Linked DNA regions of Homo sapiens: region 1 is linked to region 2. Evidence: promoter capture Hi-C in 16 types of primary human blood cells and fetal thymus (Javierre and others, 2016). All regions are on one chromosome and are shown on one strand. Each heading gives the region's core, a stretch centred on a gene start or on the middle of the fragment in contact. The rest is flanking DNA. Distances are from core to core; before and after follow the strand shown.

Region 1 (6,014 bases), core at 2,487-4,986, 1.1 Mb before region 2:
CAGGAGCTGGGCAAGGGGAGCAAGTAGATTGGCAGCCATCTGCATAACTGTGCAAGGAGTCCCTCGGTGCCAGTGGCCACCCCATCTGGAAGCACAGGTGAGTGCATGACAGATGATGTATTGATATCACACTGGGATACCTGTTAATGAGGTATCATCTGTGCTTCCAGACTTCAGGTCCATTGGTCATGAAGTTCATGAGTTCAAGCCCTTCCTCCAGGCAGCTTAGAGGAACTATGGTGAAAATGGAAGCCCCAGACTGCAGTGCTTGGCAGTGGGGGCCTCAGTCCTCACCTGGCTCAGGCAAGACATCATGTTCCCCTGTGGGCCTTCTTTCAGAGCCTCTGAGCCAGCTGTGGTGCAGCCACCATATGGTTCAGAAGAGACAGGGGTAAATGTAACCACTGGCTTCCCATTGTGGGGCTGGGTGGCTGCAGAGGGCACAGCATTCAGAGTCCCAGGAGCCAGCTCCTTTGTAGTCGGCCAACATCAGTACCAACTACCTCCTTCCCCAGGGCACCTCTTGCAGGCTGAGGCTTCCAGTTTCAGCATGGCCCTCTCAGTTCCCTGGAAGAAAAGCTTGAACTCTTCTTCGGTGGGACGGATGGACATCAAGTCTGGAAACACAGATTAAACCTCATTAATAGGTATCCTAGTGTGGTATTAATGCACCATCCGCCATGCATTCACCTGTCCTTCCAGACCGAGTGGCCACCGGTATCGCAATAAGGCCAAAAACAAGAATAACAAATACCGCTGATTTGAGCAGCTGCTTTGTGTCAAGCTCTGTGCTAAGCTCCACACTCATTTCTCCTGAATTCTCCCAACATGCCAGGAGATGGATACTACTACGAACATGCCTGCTGGAAAGATGAGGAATCTAAGGATAATAGAGATGCAGATGAGGATGAAGTAACCTTCCCACATCCCAAGGCCAGAGGGTGGCAGCATGGGGGTTTGGATGCAGGCATCTGGCCCAGGCCATGCATGCCACCCCCAAGTGCCTAGCACCCCTCATCTCCTTTGCTCACAGCTGGAACAAGTCCTATGGGTACCACCCTGCAGCCTTCACTGAACCTTTTTCTCATCTGACCTTCAAAACACTCCATGAGACCACTGGTGAGGGTCATTATTGCCATCTTACAGATGGGGAGACTGAGGTCTGCTGGGGGAAGGAACTTGACTTCTCTAGCAGTTTCTGCACCCCTTTTGTCCTCACAATAACCCCATGAGGTGGCCATTGCTAAGACCATTTTGCAGGTGGGAAAACAGTGATGATGGGAGAGGCAGAGGGGCTGTCTAGGGCCACATGCTGGCAACAGAGCCTGGGTTTGTGCACCTGGCTGCCTGACTCTTGACTGGGCTTCTCCCACGACCCGGGGCTGTCCTCAAGGTCTGGCACAGAATATGGGCGAGTGCATAGGCATGGTGGGGAGAAACAAAGGGTGGATCAGGAACCCAGTGTGGGGGCCTGGGAGTGGGCACCACATCCCTCCCTCCCAGCCTCCCCTCTCCAGCACCATCCATATGGAGGTGGGGTGGAGATGCTGAGGACAGATGAGGCTACCTCCCCAGTTCCTTCAGGACTCCTGGACTGGGGCACTCTATACTCATTTACGATGACAGAGAGTCTTATCCATGAGCCTAATGATCAGGCGGGGGCAGCCCAGCCACGCTGGGCACCGGGTGTGTGTTGCACGCAAGGATGTGAGTGTGGACAACACCCATAATGAAAAAGACAGGATGAGGCGGCAGTTGCATGCCCACACATGTGTGCACACAGACCCATGCACACAGGCGCACTTGCACAGAGGCATGTACACCCCTCACCAATGCACATCCACACTGGGACACACACAGGACAGCGAACAGACATCCACCTCCCAGAGCCACGAACAGATCAACACAGAGAGAGGCAGCCCAGAGGACATAGGCACATGGATGCCTGCAGAGTGCAGGCAGACACACACATGTGTGCACCTGGGCACACCTGTGTTCATCTGCGCACAGGCCCAAAGCAGCACACACCTGCGTGCTGGGCTAACACAGTTTATGGGCTGTGGGCAGGGATGTGGACAGCCTCAGGTGCACACAGAGCACGTGGGCCTGGGTGTGCCCACTCAGGCGTGGGTCTGGGTGCATGCATGTGCACATGCATGCACAGGGGCCTCGGTGGTGGTCAGCCCCAGGAGCCAGGCAGGGGAGAAGGTGGGCTTGCAGAATTGTGCAAGAAGCCCCTCACTGCCTCTGTGCTGATGTAGTTAGGCCCGTCCAAAACAGCCCCATAAATCAGGATGCTGCCTGCTGTAAGCATTTATATCACTGTCCCTGGGATGCAGAGCTTAGAACAGAGAAGCAGCCAACCTCAGGCCCTGACCCACGATCTGTGTGTATTAGGGGGTGATGGTTGGTATTTGGCTTTCCTTCTACCCAAGGCCACCTCCCCACCCTTACCCCAATCAGGCCCCCTGTCCTGCTAGCCCAATATGTCCGGCCTCCCTCAGGCCTTTCTTCCCCATCCCACCTTTCTTCCTTCACTCTCAGCCTGAGATCTCAAAGTGCACCATCAGCCTGAGCACCACCCTCCCATCCCCAGTGCTGAAAGCTTCTCCCAGCAATTGGCACCCTAGGACCTAGGTATGGGTGGGTGGGGTGAACAGTCCATTCCCAGACAGTAACACTGCAGGTGGTTATCAGATCTGAGATCTGAGCTGGGGTCCATACCTAGCTCCACCTCGGATGAGTCCCACCACCCCTTCTCCCAGCCTCACTTCCCCTGTCTGTAAAGGGGGACTGGAATGGGACCTCCCAGGGCTGCTCGTCCTGAGGATCTGCTGCCTAGGGAAAAGCTCCTCTGTGGATGCTGATTAATTATGACTATTAATAATACAACCATCTGTATCTCACAGTGGAGCGAGGATGATTAAAACTGGGCCCTGTGCCCCAGTGGCAGAATAAATGGGTCTCCGGGTGGGCTGGGATGTCAACACTAGCCTGGAAGCAGATCACTGGTGACTGTGTTGGGAGGGGCTCTTTATATTGCATAGACAGATGCTGAGAGGAAGGACAGAAAGGCAGGCAGGCAGAAAGAAGGTGGGGAGCTGGCTTACCAGACGATGAACAATAGACAATTACCCCATGCCAGGGCCCTCAGGCAGGACTCTGTGCCTGCCCCTGGGACAAAGCAACTGGGTCTTTTCACCTCTTCTCAACCCCACCTCCACCCTACAGCAGAGCCCAGAAGCTCCAGCTGCTGGAGGTAGTGAGGCGGTAGGCATGAGTGCCATCCTCTGTCCAGAGAAGTTTTGGAGGTTGCTATCTGCCAGGATCAGGCCAGTGCCCTCCCTGCCCCCTGCAAGCCCTGCTCCAAGTAGCGTCCATCAACGGAGGAGCCTTTCTGAATGCCTCCGAGTAGTGTGGGAGCAATGGAGACGGTCCCTCCTCCCACCGCCCGGTGGTGCCCAGTGCACCTCTGACCTCACCCATCCACTTGAACGCTCTTTCGTGGTGAACACATCTGCCTCCCACCTCACATTCACCAGACTGTGAGCAACTCTGATCAATCCACCTCTGTGAACACCACTGGCGGGCCCCACAGAACCCTCACCCTGAGACAGACACTGTTAACCCAGTAATACTCACAAGAGCCCCGTGTGGTGTCTACACCCCTTTTATCAATGAAGAAACTGAGGCACAGAGAGAGAAAGGAACTCACCAAAAGTCACACGGCCAGAAGTAGTTCAAATGCAAAGCATGCTGTTTGACTCCTGAGGTCTAACCCGCTAGGCTACAAAAGCTGACTGAATGAATGAGGCTTAAATAGCAGGATGCAGAAAGTTCTGGGCTTTGTAAGTGGACAGTGAAGTGGCCAGAAGATGGGTATCACAGGTTCAGGCCAGATGTCTGCATTAACTGGCTGTGTGGCCGCAAGCCAGTCACTTGCTCACTCTGGCCTTCAATTTCCTCACCTGAAAAAAGTGAGCAAATGGGGCTGCTCCATCCCCTGGCCAGATGCAAAGGCAATGGAAGAGTGAGTGCTCTGAAAATGATCAAAAAGCATGATCATGAGGGCTATATCCACAGCAGCCAGGACTTCCAAAGCGGAGCCCAAATGCCTGTTCAGGCAGGGGCACTCAAGAACAATAGATGAAGGATCTGAAACCAGGGCTGTCCTAGAAAATCTGGGGCACTCGGCCACCTGCACGATGCCTGTAGTGAGGTAGTGTTACATGGACTGCCGCCAAGCCAGGCCGAACCACCTCTCCAGTCCCATTTGTCGATCATTCTTGGGTCTCATCAACACACTTCCTGGGTACCTACCCCATATCCAGCCCTAGCAGGGAGTGGGTATGGAATGAACAAGAGCTTCCTAAACTCAAGGGCTGAGTGTTGACCCTCCAGGGCCTGCAATGTGGTTGGGGGATGTCCCCTTGCACAACGGGCAAAGACCGGCCAAGGAGCATCTGCTAAGTTCTTATAGGAGCTTCTGGGCTCAATCACCCACTGATCGCCAAGCTGGGTGCTGGCGATGCAATGGGGGCAGGATCTAGCCACAGGCTTGGGGGAGCATATGAGTCACAAATAAAGGCCTGTGTACCCCCAGGCTTCCTTCCCACACCCATGGCAGGCATTACCAATTGGTCCCCATGCTCTCTTACAGAGCTCCTTGTAGCCTCAGAATTGCTATTCTGTATAGCACTCCAGGCTGTCACTCTCAGGCAGAGCATAAGACAAAACCTACAGCACTTGATGTCCCTGTTAGTGGAGCAACTACTACATTCTGCTGGGTTCAGCCACATCTGGGAGAGCTAGGGCCTGGTCTTGGTCTCTGGCCTAGGAGAGAGCAGCCAGATGGTGTCAAGCTTAGACCCTCAGTTTGGGAACTTCAATGGAGAGGCACAGAGGGCCTGGGGGTGGGGGGATTTGGTTTTGCTACAGAATCCCAGCTTCTTGGCCAAGACTCTCCACGAGAGTGGTTTCCTTGGCCCGGATGCCAGAATGGGGCTTTCTGTAGCCCCACCGTCTTAGGGAGTGTGGTGGTCACCTCTGGGTATTGTGCAATTGGAAGACAATTTACCAGAACGTCCCTCCAGCAACCCCTCCCCACTCATTCCTTCTACAAGGGCACAGAAGTTGGTGAGCACTTAGGGGAAGGGCAACCTGGACAGTGTGCAGAGTCCGTCACATTTCCTCCCATCTTCCTGATGTTTGTCATTTCCTTCTGCCATCGAAACTGCCATTAGCTTAATAATCAATTCACAACTTTTGCATAAATACTTTTATTTTTAAAAGAACTTTATATTACTACCTTAAATACAAAATTAGCCTTACTCACCAAGGATAGAAGTTAAACACAAAAACAAATACAAGGAGAACAAACAATGGCACTGTTTTGCTGCCTGCCTGCTGGAGGCTCCGGGTCCTGCAGGTGCTCTCTGTTGAAAAGAGACACCAGCAAGTATCCAGTCACTGGCAGCTGTCCTTGACACAGTCAGAGGGCTAAAGGGGACTAGGGGCGGAGGGGTTTTCTCAGTCCTGATTAACATGAACTCCTGAATGCCAACGGTCACTTTTGTTTACCTTTGAGGAGCAGAAAGAAGCTCAGTTCAGTGGCACTCTCAGGATCGAGGCAGCCTGTAACAGGTCTGTTACACAGAAGAGGCTCAGAGAGGTGGGCCAATGGCCCCAGGTCACACAGCAGTCAGTGGCCAAGCCCGGCTTCCGACCCTGGTCTCTTGCCTAAGCACAAGATCTCTCTTCTCTGCCACCACCTTCTCTATGCCACACGGAGGCACTTAGGCAGAGCAGAGTCGCTGTGACCTGCGGCTGGTGTGGTAGCAGTTTTTACACCCGAGGTTAACAGCTGTGATTTAAGAGGTTATTTGTCTAAATTTTCGGGAATCAGTTTCTCAGGGAGGAGACAACTAACACATTGGGCTCGGGAAGCTAGTCTTTTTAGAAAATATTTATAGCATTTCAAGACAGTTTGGTGGCAATTGGATCTAGCATCTGCT
Region 2 (6,147 bases), core at 2,446-4,945:
GCCAACATGGCGAAACCACGTATCTACGAAAATAAATAAATAAATAAATACAAAATACAAAATTAGCGGGGCGTGGTGGCTCATGCCTGTAATCCCAGCTACTCGGGAGGCTGAGGCAGGAGAATCGCCAGAACCCGGGAAGCAAAGGTTGCAGTGGGCCGAGATCACACCATTGCACTCCAGCCTGGGCAACAGGAGCGAAAATCCGTCTCAGAAAAAAAAAAAAAAGAAAAGAAAAAAAAGGAAAAAAAAATTGGAAGCCAGGGGCAGTGGCTCACGCCTATAATCCCAACACTTTGGGAGGCCGAAGCAGGTAGATGACCTGAGGTCAGAAGTTCGATACCAGCCTGGGCAAAATGGCGAAACCCCGTCTCTACTACAAAAAAAAAAAAATTGGCCGGGCGTGGTGGTGCATGCCTCTAATCCCAGCTATCTGGGAGGCTGAGACAGGAGAATCGCTTGAACCCGGGAGGCGGAGGTTGCAGTGGGCCGAGATCGCACCATTGCACTCCGCCTGGGCAATAAGAGCGAAACTCCGTCTCAGAAAAAAAAAAAAAAAAAGGAAAAAAAAATTGATTGCTCCAGAAATATTTTCTTTAACGTGAAACAGACATGTAAAGAATGTAAATATATATGTTCCGGAGAAATAATAAGAAGAATTTCCCAAATGTTAGTGCAGACGAGGTGTCCAAGGTGCAGGCTTTGCGGGCAGCTTTCCTATTTTCTTTTTTTTTTTTTCCTGAGACAGAGTCTAGCTCTTGTCACCCAGGTTGGAGAGCAATGGCTTCATCGCGGCTCACTGCAACCTCGACCTCCCGGATTCAAGCGATTCTCCTGGCTCAGCTTCCAGAGTAACTAAAATTACAGGCCTGCGCCACAATGCCCAGCTAATTTTTGTATTTTTAGGAGAGACGGGGTTTCACCATGTTGGCCAGGCTGGTCTCCAACTCCTGACCGCAAGTGATCCGCCCCCGCCTCGGCCTCTCAAAGTGCTGGGATTATAGGCGTGAGCCACCGTCCCCGGCCGACTATTTTTCTTTTTTTTCGTTTTTTGTTTTTTTTTTTTTTTTTGAGACCGCATCTCGCTCTGTCACCCAGGCTGGAGTGCAGTGGCGGGATCTCGGGTCACTGCAACATCCGCCTCCCAAGTTCAAGCGATTCTTCTGCCTCAGCCTCCCGAGGTGACCAACTATCCTTATTCTTAAGAAAATAGTCAGCCGGCTGGGCACGGTGGCTCATGCCTGTAATCCCAGCACTCTGGAAGGCCGAGGCAGGCAGATCACGAGGTCAGGAGTTCAAGACCAGCCTAGCCAATATGGTGAAACCCCGTCTCTACTAAAAATACAAAAATTAGCCAGGCATGGTGGTGCGCACCTGTAGTCCCAGCTACTCGGGAGGCTGAGGCAGAAGAATATTTATTGAGTGATTGTAATGTGCCTGTTACATTCTAATTACTTTTACCTTCATTTTGCTATTTAACCTTCCCATTGACTCTAAGAAATAGGATACATATTACTCACCCATGTTATAAATGGGGAAACTAACACACAATAAGATTAAATAACTTTCCCAAGTTCACACTTTATATACGTGTATATATACACGTATGTGTATATATACACATATATCTATATCTATATCTATATATATATATATATATATTTTTTTTTTTTTTTTTTTTGAGGCAGAGTCTTGCTCTGTTGCCCAGGCTGGAGTGCAGTGGCACAATCTTGGCTCACTGCAACCTCCGCCTCCCGGATTTAAGCGATTCTCCTGCCTTAGCCTCCTGAGTTGCTGGAATTACAGGAATGCGCCACCACACCAGGCTAATTTTTGTATTTTTTAGTAGAGACGGAGTTTCACCATATTGGTCAGGCTGGTCTCAAATTCCTGACCTCATGATCTGCCCACCTCGGCCTCCCAAAGTGCTGAGATTACAGGCGTGAGCCACCGCGCCCGGCCTGCACAACTTTATTTTTTATTTTTTTTTATTTTTGAGATGGAGTTTCACTCTTGTCGCCCAGGCTGCAGTGCAATGGCATGGTCTCGGCTCACTGCAACCTCCACCTCCCAGCTTCAAGCGATTCTCCTGCCTCAGCCTCCCGAGTACCTGGGATTACAGGCGCACACCACCAACCCCAGCTAATTTTTGTATTTTTAGTAGAGATGGGGTTTCACCATGTTGACCAGGCTGGTCCCGAACTCCTGACCTCAGGTGATCCGCCCACCTTGGCCTCCCAAAGTGCTAGGATTACAGGCGTGAGCCACCACGCCTGGCTGCCTACACAACTTTAAATGGTGAAAGCTAGACTCCCATGATGGCACTGTGATTTCATAACTTTTGCTCTTAACCTCTAGATAAGTCACACACGATCCAACCCTTGTTGGTATAATATTGTAAACATCAGAGCCGGGTGTGGTGGCTCACACCTGTAATCCTATCACTTTGGGAGACTGAGGCGGGCGGATCACGAGGTCAGGGATTCGAGACCAGCCTGGCCAACATAGTAAAACCCCGTCTCTACTAAAAATACAAAAATTAGCTGGGCGTGGTGGCGGGCGCTTGTAGTCCCAGCTACTCGGGAGGCTGAGCCAGGAGAATCGCTTGAACCCGGGAGGCGGAGGTTGCGGTGAGCCGAGATTTCGCCACTGCACTCCAGTCTAGGCGACAGAGCGAGACTCCGTCTCAAAAAAAAAAAAAAAAAAAAAACAAAAAAAACCCATAATGTTGACTATATATATATATATATATATATATATATAGTCAACATTATTTCATGATTAAGTGATGGAGTACCGAAATGAGTTAGAAAAACCTGATATGCCTCGTTTGTCTGTGACATTGTGTTTTGCTAGTGAGGATCCATGGCGTCTGAAAATGAGATAGCGTCCCTTCTTAAAAATTGAAAGTTGTTAAACACTTTTGTTAAGTTCTGTTTTGAGTTTCTCACAAATAATGAGGACTTAGTTCTAATTCTAAGCGCTAAGCCCTGTGGTGATGTGATTTCCTTGCTAGGCTCATGCACTAATATATCACACTAGGATCACCTCCCACAAGTTCTCACAGACTGTAGACAACTTATTTCAAGACATGAATGATCTTTACTTTCCATTCTCCCTTTTCTTCTGTAGATTACCATGGCTGTTTTCACTCTAACAGATTTTCAACTGTTTTTGTAATCAATAATGTAAGTTTAATTCTTCCCCCCTCCCTCCAAATAACTTCATGAACTGGAGGCACATGTGCGCCCATATTTTCCGCTCTGTTTTCCTTTGTTGGTCCTCCACAGATAGTGCCCTCTGTTGGATGGGCCGGTTCATTTTAGCTTCCACCTTCCCTTAAAACAATTAGAAGCTCTTAATTTAGATGGTACTGATGTTAATGATGATGATTTTCCATTTTATGCAAGTTTTGGCCCTCTGCTTGTCTAAAAGCCTTGAGGCAAAGAGTTATATGCAGTTTCTCTGCGGGTGTCTGATTACGTGGAGAAATTGACCAGAAATGGGATTTTTAAAATACAGCACACGCCTCGGTGCGGCTTCCAGTAAGCGCCACCAGGTGACGGTGCGGGGAAAGGGAAAAAAAAAAAAAAAAAAGGCATGCCGGAAGTCTCTCTTGACAGACAGACGCGCGGGCGAGTAGCGGAAGAGGAAGCGGACACGTGGGACACTCTACGGTGGCCGAGAGGATGCCGCAGATGTGTTAGCGGCGAGTCCAGAAGCAGCCCCAGGAGGTGCTGGGGGCATCGTTTCTCTAATCTGGCCTCCCGAGTGCCAAGGAGGCGTCCCGGCAGCGGTCATCATGGTGAAGGAGCAGTTCCGGGAGACGGATGTGGCCAAGAAAATGTAAGACGGAGTAAGAGTGGCCAAAGGGCTGAGAAATAGGGCAAGGGGTCCGAGGTCAGCGGTCCCGGGTCTTGCAGGGTCAGAGATGGGGTGCAATGGGAAGGGGAGGGCCAGTAGTCCATAGGTGTGACCAGCGCCCAGAACTACCAGCGTTGGTCAAAGAGCATTGGTCAGGCTGAGGGGATTTCAGCACCTCGAGAGGTCCCTGGACTTGGGCGGAGAAGTCGGAGTGGCCTGAGCCTTAATGATTTGTGCACCCTGGGCCAAAGCTCGCATTCTCCTGAAGTCATACAATGATCCCTGTTCTTCAGCGAACTATCCCCTGCTGCAGCGAGGGGAGCAATCTGGGGCGGGGACTGTCTCTAATTCTGTCAGCCGCAGAGCGTCTGACACGGAGGCAGTAGTTGCTTACCAAAAGGATGGGGTTGCCCACTAGAAAGCTGTACCACAGGCCGACGGATGGCAGTGTCAGAAATAAAGCTGCTATCCGGACTTTTGCCTTCAGAAATACGTTATTAGGCGGTGGCTCCTTCTTAGAGTTCTCGGTAAGAAAGTGAATCCAGCCGGGCGCGGTGGCTTACTCCTGTAATCCCAGCACTTTAGGAGGCCGAAGCGGGTGAATCTCCTGAGCTCAGGAGTTTGAGACTAGCCTGGGCAACGTGGCGAAACCCCGTCTCTATCAAAAATACAAAAATTAGCAGGCGTGGTGGCGCGCCCTTGTGGTCCCAGCTACTCGGGAGGCTGAGGCCGAAAAATCACTTGAGCCTGGGAGGCAGAGGTTGCAGTGGGCAACCTCCTGCATTCCACCCTGAGTGACAGAGTGAGACGGTGTCTCAAAAAAAAAAGTGAATTCATCATTCTTACAGCAGACACTGAGGAGGATACTGCGCGTTATTCCCAGTGTTGGACGTTAAAGATACGGTCTGAATAAAACTTTTACTGCCTAATCTAGTTGGAGAAGGTACACAAGTCAACACTGGGTACGACAAGTGCAATGACAAGGGTAGGTCCAGGGGGTTTTGAGAGCACATAATGGGTCCAGGCAAAAGAAAGCAGACCAAACTGCTTTTTTCAAGGAGCAGACCTGAGGGAGAGAACACAGGTGATCAGAAGGAAGCAGAAGACTTGAAGCTGTGTTAAGAAGTCATCTTGTAGGCAGTGAGGAACCTTTGAAGGATTTTCAACAGGAGAGTATCTTGATAAGAGTTCTCCTTCTGGAAAATCTCTTGATTCATGGTGGAAAGAATTAGAGGTCGAGAGACCTTGAGACGGATATACAGAATGCCTTGCTTGGGCAGCTGTGTGGATGGTTGCCATTCACTAGAACAGGTGTCTTACCTAGGTGAATGCAGCATTCTCCCATGTGGTAGCTCTACATCGACACTGGCCCTTCACACCCACCTGTACACCTGCGCCCAGTCAGATATAATACATTCTCACAAAACAGAGAAAGTGCTTCTGTCAAAGTGCAAATTAAGGGTATTGTCAATTAAAATCCTCTAGCAGAGGCCAGGAGTGGTGGCTCACGTCTGTAATCCCAGCACTTTGGGAGGCCATGGCAGGCAGATCATGAGGTCAGAAGTTCAAGACCAGACTGGCCAATATGGTAAAACCTCATCTCTACTAAAAATACAAAAATTAGCTGGGTGCGGTGGCGCATGCCTGTATGCCTGTAACCCCAGCTACTTGGGAGTCTGAGGCAGGAGAATCGCTTGAACCCAGGAGGCAGAGGTTGCAGTGAGCTGAGATCGCACCACTGCACTCCAGCCTGGGTGACAGAGCAAGACTCTGTCTCAGGGAAAAAAAAAAATCCTCTAGCAGCTTTCCATTGTGTGGGCCATCACGCCTAGCAAATTTTTTGTATTTTTAGTAGAGACAGGGTTTCACCATGTTAGCCAGGATGGTCTCAATCTCCTTGCCTCGTGATCCACCCACCTTGGCCTCCCAAAGTGCTGGGATTACAGGCATGAGCCACCGCACCCGGCTGCATTTATGTTATTTAAATAAATTCCCTACCAAAGTTCCCAAGCCCTCATGCTTTAGCTCCTGCATGCTTCACTGACTTTATCTTGTACTATTAGCTTTCTATGCTCCAGTATATACTGATTTCATTTGGTTCCTTGAAAATGCCAAGCTTGTGCCAGTCCCAGGACCCTGGCCCTAGTCATTCTCTCCACTTCAGATGCTCTTCCTTCTGATTGTCAGTTTTACAGTGAGGCTTTCTGACCATGCAACGTAAAGTAATTCCTCAGACTCCACTGCTTACATCACTTCTGCATCTGTTCACATTTGTATATTCGT

What was found. Contacts are between HindIII fragments. The CHiCAGO score rates a contact against its expected background, and 5 or more counts as called.
Region 1: a fragment that was not itself captured here is called in contact with the fragment with the promoter of POLR3A in region 2 in 5 of 17 cell types (naive B cells, activated CD4 T cells, endothelial precursors and 2 more); the score reaches 7.6 in naive B cells.

What each region holds. Positions count from the first base shown.
Region 1 is chr10:79,105,041-79,111,054 of GRCh38, reverse strand. The region is part of intron 1 of ZMIZ1 (zinc finger MIZ-type containing 1); the gene reads right to left. Among named protein-coding and RNA genes, the nearest start is that of ZMIZ1, 39 kb to the right of the region's middle. RefSeq lists a silencer at 3,524-3,701. The HindIII fragment of the contact is 2,257 bases long and covers 2,608-4,864 here.
Region 2 is chr10:78,027,063-78,033,209 of GRCh38, reverse strand. POLR3A (RNA polymerase III subunit A) reads left to right here and starts at 3,695. Exons shown (of 31, transcript NM_007055.4): 1 at 3,695-3,846. The coding sequence starts at 3,803. RefSeq lists an enhancer at 3,526-3,775. The HindIII fragment of the contact is 13,008 bases long and covers 1-5,982 here.